Linked DNA regions of Homo sapiens: region 2 is linked to region 1. Evidence: promoter capture Hi-C in 16 types of primary human blood cells and fetal thymus (Javierre and others, 2016). All regions are on one chromosome and are shown on one strand. Each heading gives the region's core, a stretch centred on a gene start or on the middle of the fragment in contact. The rest is flanking DNA. Distances are from core to core; before and after follow the strand shown. Region 1 holds the start of COL19A1 (collagen type XIX alpha 1 chain). Region 2 overlaps COL19A1 (collagen type XIX alpha 1 chain).

What was found. Contacts are between HindIII fragments. The CHiCAGO score rates a contact against its expected background, and 5 or more counts as called.
Region 2: a fragment that was not itself captured here is called in contact with the fragment with the promoter of COL19A1 in region 1 in 2 of 17 cell types (naive B cells and total B cells); the score reaches 7.2 in naive B cells.

What each region holds. Positions count from the first base shown.
Region 1 is chr6:69,864,684-69,869,647 of GRCh38, forward strand. It overlaps COL19A1 (collagen type XIX alpha 1 chain), which reads left to right and starts at 1,873. Exons shown (of 51, transcript NM_001858.6): 1 at 1,873-1,957. RefSeq lists silencers at 2,511-2,560, 2,781-2,830, 2,841-2,910. The HindIII fragment of the contact is 9,714 bases long and covers 971-4,964 here.
Region 2 is chr6:69,907,926-69,912,889 of GRCh38, forward strand. The region is part of intron 4 of COL19A1 (collagen type XIX alpha 1 chain); the gene reads left to right. Among named protein-coding and RNA genes, the nearest start is that of COL19A1, 44 kb to the left of the region's middle. The HindIII fragment of the contact is 4,140 bases long and covers 92-4,231 here.

The sequences.
Region 1 (4,964 bases), core at 623-3,122:
CTAGGTATACAATAGTTTGTAATCATGAAACCAGCCTAGATTCAAACCCTTTCCTGAAAGAAAAATAGAGAAATATTTGTTGCCCTGGGGATGTTGGTGTATCTAGAAACAGAATAAGCAACAGATAATAATAATTTGAAGTTTTATTTATTCATTTTTCACTTTCTTCCAAAATCTTGCTTGGGTCAATATTAGAAATAAGAAAAGGGCCATTTTGAAATATAAACAAAAATATAAGTGTTTAGCTCTCTCAAATATCTTAACAATTATGAAATTATTAAAATGTTTAAGAAAATAATTCTAAGATAAACTTGATTTACTTGTATTAAAACAAAAATTAGAGACAAAATTGTGGACTTCCTTTTAGGTAGTTTTAAAGCATTACTTTAAATAGTTTCAATTAAGTGTAAATAAGGTGAATTTAATAGTCTGACAAAGAAATAAAGCCTGGATGCTCTTAGTTCAATTCATTAGTGATGGCAAGGTATATAAAGTAAAATTGCTTAGAGAAAGAAAAAAATCAAATGGGATAATACTTCAAAAAAATAGAGACTGATCACCAAAAGTCTAATGAAGGTTTGTGAATCATGTTTTTCAAATGGCCATTTGAGTAGCGTGACTCATGCAATATCCTCCCTCCTTGGCCTCTTTCCACAGTCAGCCAAAAATTAGTGATGAAAATCATATGAGAAGGAAATGTATCAAGTGGTTTTAAATCCTGACATAGAAACATGGTTTGCATCACCATGAATGCCGAACTCTAAAACTGCAGGTATCTTGATTAGGTTGAGAGAGAAGTTTAAAAATCACAAGTGATACTTTAATGGTTTCACTCCAATGAAGTGGAAAGGAGCTATCTTTTAACATTTTTCTTAACATCTTTATTTTTTGCCTGCCTGATTTTATTTATTCCTTGATCTGTGAGCTCTGATATGTGAAGTGTATTTCTATGGTTCTAAGGTAACTTTTAAGCTTGATGATTTTCACCATTGTGGATCAATAATATAATTTATCCTATTTCTCCCACTGTGGCAATACTGAAATAAAAATGTAAAACCAGTTTATCTGTTTTCTAATGCCTGGTTTACTCTTCTGAATTCTATAAATCATTCTGTTTTTCATATATACACATACATATGCATACACTATATGTATACATATAAATTTACTATATATGTATATATACCTACAAATATATATGCCTACAAGTATCCATATATACCTCCTATATATGTATATAAACCTACTATATATGCCTACAAATATATATATACTCTCTCTACACACACATACATGCACCTACACAGAAATCTGCAGGAAAATGACACTTTCACATATTCAAAGGGATCCCAAAAGAGTTCAAAAGCCAAGATTGGAAGCACCAACCCATGGAAAGATGTATTTAAAATCACAAAATACTTCTGTGGACACTGAGAAAAACCAAGCCACACAAACGTTTACATATGAGCGTGATTAGAAGGTGGGCAGACTGCCTTAATCAACTTTATATAAACTCTTGACATAAAAGTGAAAAAATGAAACATAAATGATATATTTTCTTAGCTCAACCGTTAAAAAGCCAATTACCTACTCGTGAACGTTTGCCACATACAATAATACTTTGAAGACACTTCATGATCAGAAGTGAGAAACTCTAGGCATTTGCATCCAACCGTCATTTTATCTGTGAAACTGCTAGTAAAACATAAACCTGAAAGGCATTACTCCCAGCTCTAAGGCGACATCGCTGTCATTAAAGAAAACCTGTGCCTGAGTTGGCTGAGTACCTTCTTGCAGAGTCCTCTGTCCTCGCGGAGTGGGAGGGTCACACTGGGAGAGACTAATAAGGGCAGAGATGCGTCCCCCTTCCCCACTCGCAGGGAGCTCACTCCTCGGCGGTGCCGCAGCCCTGTCCGGACTCCACTGCGCCTCTGAGGGGCTCAAATACGAATTCAAGGTAAGCTGCGCGGCTTTGCGACCGGCTCTGCACTTGCCCTCTCACACATGCCCGGGCTATGTCATCTGCTCGTGTTCCTAGTTATCTGTGTGCATCTGCTTTTCAAGAAAATGTAAAAACTGTGCTACACATGGAAATATGTTTAGGTGGATAAATAATGCACACCTGCATACGTTTCCATAGGGGCCTTAAGGATGGGACCAAAAACGTTTGGCAGGAGACGGCCACTCTCATGTGGTACATACCATGTAGTTCGTGTTCCTATGTTCACATGATGCAGGCTTCATGCGTTACACCTAAGTTCTAGGTGGTTTTTCTGGCTATGTGTGTCTGTGAAGCGGAACTATGGAGCACTGCTGATGCGGGTAGGGACAGACATCAAATACATTACAAAAAAAATGGGGGGTTAAAGGAGTAAAACAAACTCACTATCAATTCATGCCGTTAGAGCGCTTTTTTTTTTTTTTTTTGACGGTGTTAGCCCTGGAAGCGAGGCAGCCAGTTAAGCGGCGTAAGCTAAGAGACGCGGGGTTCCGGTGCGGTGCCCTCCGGCCCGGGGTTACCTACTCCACATGTGGGTGTTTTTCCCAAGTGCGGCTTCTGGGGGGCGGCGCGGGCGCGGGCGGGGATTCCCGGACTCCAGCCCCACCACGTTCCGGAGCGTCCGGCCCTGTTCCTTAATTACCCTGCAGCATGCGCAGCGCGGTCGGCCACAGCGCCGCCGCCGTCCCCGCAGTCCTCCCTGCAGCCACCGCCGCCGCCGCCGGAACGTCCCAGTCGCGGCGCGAGGAAGACGCGGCCCCAGCCTCTGCCGCCTCCGCTGTCAGAGTCCCGAGGCCACCGCCGAGAGCGCGCCGGCGCCGCAGCCACAGCGGCCGAGAACCAGGAGGCGGCGCCGGGCGGCCCAGCTAGGGCGCTGCAGGGTCGCGAGGAAGTTTGTTGGCCCGGAACCAAGCACGCCGTCGGGCACGCTAGCTCCCCGAGAGCAGGCGGGCGCGTAAGCGAACCCCCTTAGAGGTTACGGAGGGAGCGGGAAGCCGGCAAGAGGGTGGGCAGAGGAGCTGGGGGACAGGCGGGTGCCACAGGAGCCCCCGAGGAGCTTCATTTGATGAGAAGGTGAAGAGGCAGAGGGGACCAGCGTGCCTTGTCAGCCTCAGGGGACAGTGGGCTGGAGAGCAAAAAGAGGAGGGCCCAGAATGCTGATAATAAGTAGTTTTAATAGAACAATCCGTGAATAGAGGCAAGAGAGTGATCATCGGCCACAGCTTGAGATTGGGAGATGGAAGAGTAAGGGAAATAAATTGCGCCACCTCCCTCAATCCCCAATTCCAAGACGACTCAGTCCCATCTTCTGCTTGGATAAGTCTGAGGAGGATTAAGATGTGAGGATAATCACTCTGCTGTAGGGGAATTTACATCTGCCTGTTAATGGAGGAGATGAAACAAACGCACACCAGTATCTATTTTCAACCACCACCCCTCCCCAAAAAGGAGAGAACACCAATGCCTCCCCCTCTGCCCGAATCAAACACTGCTATAATTCTTTAGGAGACTAAAGGGAAAAAAAAAAAAGAAAGAAAAGAGCCCCTGCTCGTATGTGGGGTCTTGGCATCTCCTTGTTTTTGAGTGGTGGGAAACTTGCAGGACCCTCTCTAAGTAGAGAGATCTTTGATATGGGCCTGCAAAGCTGAGATATTTAGGTATTCCAGTGGTGAAAAACATGCATAAATGCCCCTTCCTGAGGAGGGCTGACAGGGTTTTTGTGTAGGAATATCTCTTCAGGATGAAAAAGAGGAGGGTGACCCCCAGAGGCAGAAAATTTATGCTCTCTCTAGGGGATAGAAAGTGGAGAAAGTAACTGTCAGGTGCTTCCGTTAGGTTTTGTCCTACCTGAGCTCTCTAAGTGCTAAGGGACCTAAATGGGGTTTCCTGGGAAAGGAGGGAGACAGTATGGCAAAAGAGCAGGAAAGTGAACCTGAAACTGAAATGGACAGGACTAAGAAAGAGCAAAAAGGTGAAAGAAACCCAAATGTGATTATTACCACAATTGGGACATCATCTCTATATCTGAATCATTCTCATCCTAGAAAACCATCCAAAACAGATGGGAACTGTTGGTATTTTCCAAAAATGGAAAATTTCCATCTACTTTCTGGTCCTCCAGTTTAATCTCTCCTGCTGCAATTTTAGTTTATTTTCTCCAGCAGGCAGAAATGCCAATGTGGGTACACAGAGTCAATGGTTCTAGAGGCGGAAGAAGATATGAAGTTAGAAACCATGGTAGTGTGACTAAGAGGCATCACAAATGAAAATTCAATTGAAGTATGAAAAATAAACTGAAATGCAAGGAAGTAGGGCTATAGATATGCTAATATATAACCCTGAAAAGATGCTGGAAAAAAAAAAAACCCAGAATGAATAGGACCAGAATTGAGTCATCTGAGGCAGGCCACATTGAGGATGTACATCTTAAACAGGCAGAGAATAACTAGCTTAGCAGAAGAGATCCAGCAGGGAGGGCATTCCAGCCAGAAGAAATTGCATGTGTGAAGGCTTAGAGGTAGGAGCAAACAGTCATGTGCCTGGTAAGACAGAAAATCCAAGCGGGGTGAAATCTGAGATGAGTAGAGCAGATAGCACCTGCCAAGGAGAGATTGGAAAGGACTGGCTAAGAAGCAATAGGCTTTTTAGGGTGTTATTTTGTAAGCCAATAATAAAATAATCAGGTGAGCAAGTTGCATATTAAATTCGATAGAAATATGATGTATGCAGAGTGGACTATTAGGCCTCTCTTATCTATGCATACGTTATGAAGCACAAAGGATTTCTGACCTCCTCTTTTTAAGAGAAATCAAAAGTAATTGTGAAATTTTAAGATTATTAGATCAGAAAACCAGTAGAGCCCTTCAAATTGAAAAAAAATGGGAAAAAGGATGAATTTGAAAATACGGCCATATATTATATATTAATTTAAGATGATATTGGATCATTGATATAGATATATCTG
Region 2 (4,964 bases), core at 912-3,411, 44 kb after region 1:
TAGAAAGATACACAGTGCAAGGAAAAGCTACACTTCCCCCTTGCTTTGCCTTCATAGAAGGCAACTGAGATGTATTGCCTTCTATTGTTCAAGCTTAGACTGCATGACTCAAATTTCACCCCTTATAAAGGCTAAACTTCCTTAAGCATCATGCACAAGGCTAATTTTCAATGTTTTCATTCCTTGCCTCTTAAGGGACTATTTTGAGGGACTATTTTGTAATGCATAGTTCTCCTTTGAGTCCTCTCCAAGTTCTCAAAACAAATTCAGAGGCTGAAAACTTGTTCAGAACTCTGATATCGAAGTGTCTCCTTGCTGAGTGTTTTAGAAGGATTACTTTACAATTCCATTAAGCTCTAGAGAATGCCTATTTATGCATCCCTTGGGTTTTCATTTGGGGCATTCCTTCATTGTGTAGATAGGAATTTTCCTATATAAGGATAGGTGACTTAGTTACAAAGTTGTCCAGCTGTTTTTATGAGATTGTATGACTGTTATACATGATTATGTCATCACTGTATTTCCTTCATTGCAGTTTGGCATACCAAGAATCTGAGGTTAGTCATTAAGTCATACTTTTTTTAAATGGAAAGAACATATACAAATATTTACTACTCAATAGTCAAAAGCACCTATTTTATTTTTTCTAGAAAATTCAGAATTGTTAATAGGCAGCAATAAATTTCTTAGTATAGAAATAGCTATTAAGATGTAATGTAATATGAAATATTATTAGTTCAGTATTGTTATTTACTGATTTTGGAAACATTTGATGTTATCATTATCAAATTTAAGTAAGTTGTGATTTTGCTCTTTCAGATTTCATATAACTCAGTATTGGGAAAAGTAGAACATATCAGTAATTAATCATATGTGTATAAATTCTACAACATTCATATGACTTAAAGTTTTTTCTTGGACTTGACCATTCATTTATTAGCCAGAGAGAAATAAGTTTGTTTAAAAGGTACAGAAATGTTTTAAGTTTAATGTCTATTTGTGGACATTAGTAGATAAAATCTTATAAAATTAAAATATTTTTGTGTTTCACATGAGTTAAAATGGAAAAACCATAAATCTATTTATACATTTAAGAAACTAAAGTTCCTATAGTAAGAAACAATAATGTCACTATTATTGCCTTCAAAGAATGTATTCTTAACAATTAAATTACCCAAAAAAGCCTCACATAAAATGGAATGAAAGTGAGAAGCTGCAATTCATTTACAAACTTATCCATTTTCTAGCCTCAAATGTACATAAACTTTCTAAGGAAAAGAGGGTAGGTTCTCATTTCTGAGGAAAAAAGGAGTAGTTTTTCACTTGTCTTGTTGAAACACAGGACAGAACATTAGTAAAGAGTTTGCAGAAAGAGGTATAAGATACGGTTCTTGCCTCTAGGGAGTGTGTGATATCTCTCCTCTTAGGGGCAAGAAATGAAGACAGACTTAATTATAATTATAATTATAAGCATACAGTTAATGCTTTAAATGTTCAACGGAACAAATATAAAGACAAAATCTCTTATATTTGGGATGATAAAAAAATATCTTGAAGACTATGGGATTTAAACTAGGCTTTGAAAACTGAAGAGACTACTGAGAGTCAGAGATGAATCAAGTTCTGGGGAGAAGAAAGACATCTAAGGTGAGGGAAGGCCCTAGGAGGTTAAGACATGGAAAAATACAATAAATATAATTACATGAGATAATTTCTATATGAGTAAAACATTGACAACCCAATTTATCCATATCCAAGGTGGCAGGCAGTTTGATTTTCTCTGATGCTCACAAACATTACATAAGCCCCTGGCAAAAATTTTGAAGAACTGATATACGATTTTCCCCACCACATCCAGATGGCTTAAGTTCTAATGAAAGTCTACGGTCATTCAAAATAGGTAATAGGCCTCTCATATGGTATCATATAATCGGAAAGGTATTATTTTTCTTTAGACTCCATTGCTCACATCAGAACTCCCATTCTTTGGCCAGGCAGGAAATTGTTCAGATATATAAGCCTTACAGGGTAGAGATTACATCCAACTGATTCATGTTTGTGTCCCTCGTGGTACCTGACACACAGTGGTGTTTAGTGCTAGTTGAATTGGTATGATCTTAAGTTTAAATTGAAGGGATATTTGAAATTTATTGGTACAGCTACTTGCATATTTTAGGCAACCAATAATTTCTTTTCACCAGCACCTCAAAAAATAAGGCACCTTACTTCTAATTCTTGTACTAGATCTTTTCACCAAAGAAGACTTAAGAACAAGGCACATGTGACTACCCAGTTTCCAACAATGATAATGATTCTTATAATACCACCTTACATTTATGAATGTTATATGATTTACAAAGTAATTTTGCCTTCTTGTATCAATGGTACCACAATGACTTCTGTGATGTAGTACTTTATCACCATTTTATAGATGAAAAATGAGGTTGAATGACATTAAGGAATTCACCTAAAATTTCAAAAATAATAAACAGTTGTGTCTAGAACTCAGTTCTTCTGTCTCCAAATCCAGAATTAATTTCTACTTTATTATGACTAATTACATGTAAATTATCTTGTTATGTCTATATGCCATTTACTTTGATAGTAGTGAGGTACTAGCTAAATGTACTACTTAGGAGTCATAATAAAGCAAATGTTCTCATAAAGTAATGAAACTAAAGTGTTCTATTTTGATAATTACTTGGGCCAGTCTAATAGGCATTGATTAATCTACCTCTATTGTTGGATTATATATTAGATTTTTTTCTTTTTCCAGTCATTCTTTTATCCTATGAATCAATCTTGTAAGGGACAGCAGAGCTTTTCGCCTGGTAGGGTTGTGTGAATGTATCTGTGCAGTGTACACTGCAGATTTTCAGAGTGTACAAAAGAAAGGCATGTAAGCATGTACTTCAGTCTTATCTTTAATCTTAATTTGGCTCATAAAAATGCTATTTGAGGACTAATTAGTTATTATCCTTAGGTGGTTGCAAATGCGTTGATTTATAATGGTTGTAAACCTACAAATAAGCATGGTCTTAAATTTATGAATTAGAGAATTGACCTTTAATAGTGCTTGATGCTTTGTTATACTAGTGCTTCAGCATAGCTTTATAACAACTCTAAAGATTTTTCTGTAGGCTGATTGGACTCTGTGTATCACAAAATAGCATCAAATAGTCTAATCCTCCTTCTCAGACACAGTCAGACTGTAGGATATAATTATAATTTCAATAATAAACTTTGAAATCTATGTCAACCAAGGAAGAATAATTGTGCCAACTGATAAATCATTACTTTATTGTCATTTCAATTCTTTCAACTTAGCCACAAATGCTAATTAGAAAATAAACATGGTAGCAGAAAAACTATGCTTATGTTATTTTATGTGATTCCTGTAAGTTTCCTACATCTTGTTCATTATCTCATTTAGGTCAGCACTTATGTTTCCTAAGACACTTTTTTTTCCCCCAAATTAGGTGACATTTTAATAATTTTAGACTAAAGTAATAAAATATTCAAATAATTGACTTGATTAATTCCTTTCACCCTGGCTATATCTAAGTAATTTGGAAACATCATAAGTTCAGTGAAAATGTTAATATGAACACATGTGGTGATGCCATGCAGAATTAACATCTGGCTGGTTGAATTTGAGACTGAGTTGACCAGATGTTTTGTGTTCAAGTTATTTTTCTTATTTGAACAATCTCAACTTCTTCTCTCTACTTCATAATTTCTTAATTTCAGCTGTTCTCCCTGGAGGCAACCCCCCTTCTTTCAAAGGTTAACCCCTTCACTTGTGCTCTTAATCCTCTCCTAGCCAGCCTCCTCTAAGACCTTGATCCACCCATGATCCCCCTGCTCTTGGGTCTTCAGTGCTCCTCTCCACAGTATCCTGGCCTCTTACTCTACAAATATATACTTAATCCTTCCCTATTACAGAAACATTTTCCCTGGGCAGTCCCCTTTACTCACAGACTTCTTAAAGGAACAATGTTACTGTCCACTTTTACTTCTTCACACATCCCTTAGCCCATTAAAATCTGACTAGGACTTCTTGAACACTATGGAAATTTCTGCCTCATAGTTGCCGGTGACAGCTGTCCTAATTCCAATGCCAGCGTTGACCTAGGTGTTGCACTAAACTTCCTTTGTTAACCCATTTCTGTCTCTCTCTGTCATACCATGCCCACCTTTTCTGCCCATTGGAATCCTACATATCCTAGAAAGCTTAGTACACATGCTACATTCTACACTAAGCCCTCACTAATGTCCTTCAAGTTTCCTTCTTTTTTTGGTGGTCCAATACCACTTTTTCCATAATTCTTACATAATTCTGATCTCATTCTGACTTGTGTAATCTAAATGTTCTCAGGCCTCGTTAATATGTGGATTTAAATGATATTATATTAACATCAATGCGTAAATTGATATTACTTCTACTTTCTACATACATCACTGCTTAAAACCTACTGTTGTTATTTCTGGGAGCCCGAAAAGTGATGCACATGTGTTCATGTTCAAAAGCAGATATGCTTTTCTTCTTGTTTTCTAATTTTCTTATCAATGCGTGTTGCTATTGCCATTGCTGGGAGCTCTCTCCATGCAAATGCTACTCTGTGAGACCCAACCAACCTCTGCTCATGGCTGCTCATTCTTGGCCCACAGGTGCCAGAATTACCCTGTGGCTTATGACTGTGTGAGGTGTGCATGTGTGCTTTGGAAGGTGGTGGCAGAGATCTAAAGACCCCTTCTCTAACTGTCCCCTGGGCCCTGAGGCAGTGTATCTTGGGCACAGAGCCTCACAGAGTGTTTAATAAATATAGTCCTATCAACTCCTGGCTCACCATCATTTGTGAGTCTCAAAAGCCAGTAGAGGCCAGGCACGGTGGCTCACACCAGTAATCCTAGCACTTTGGGAGGCCAAGGCAGGCAGATCGCTTGAGCCCAGGAGTTCGAGA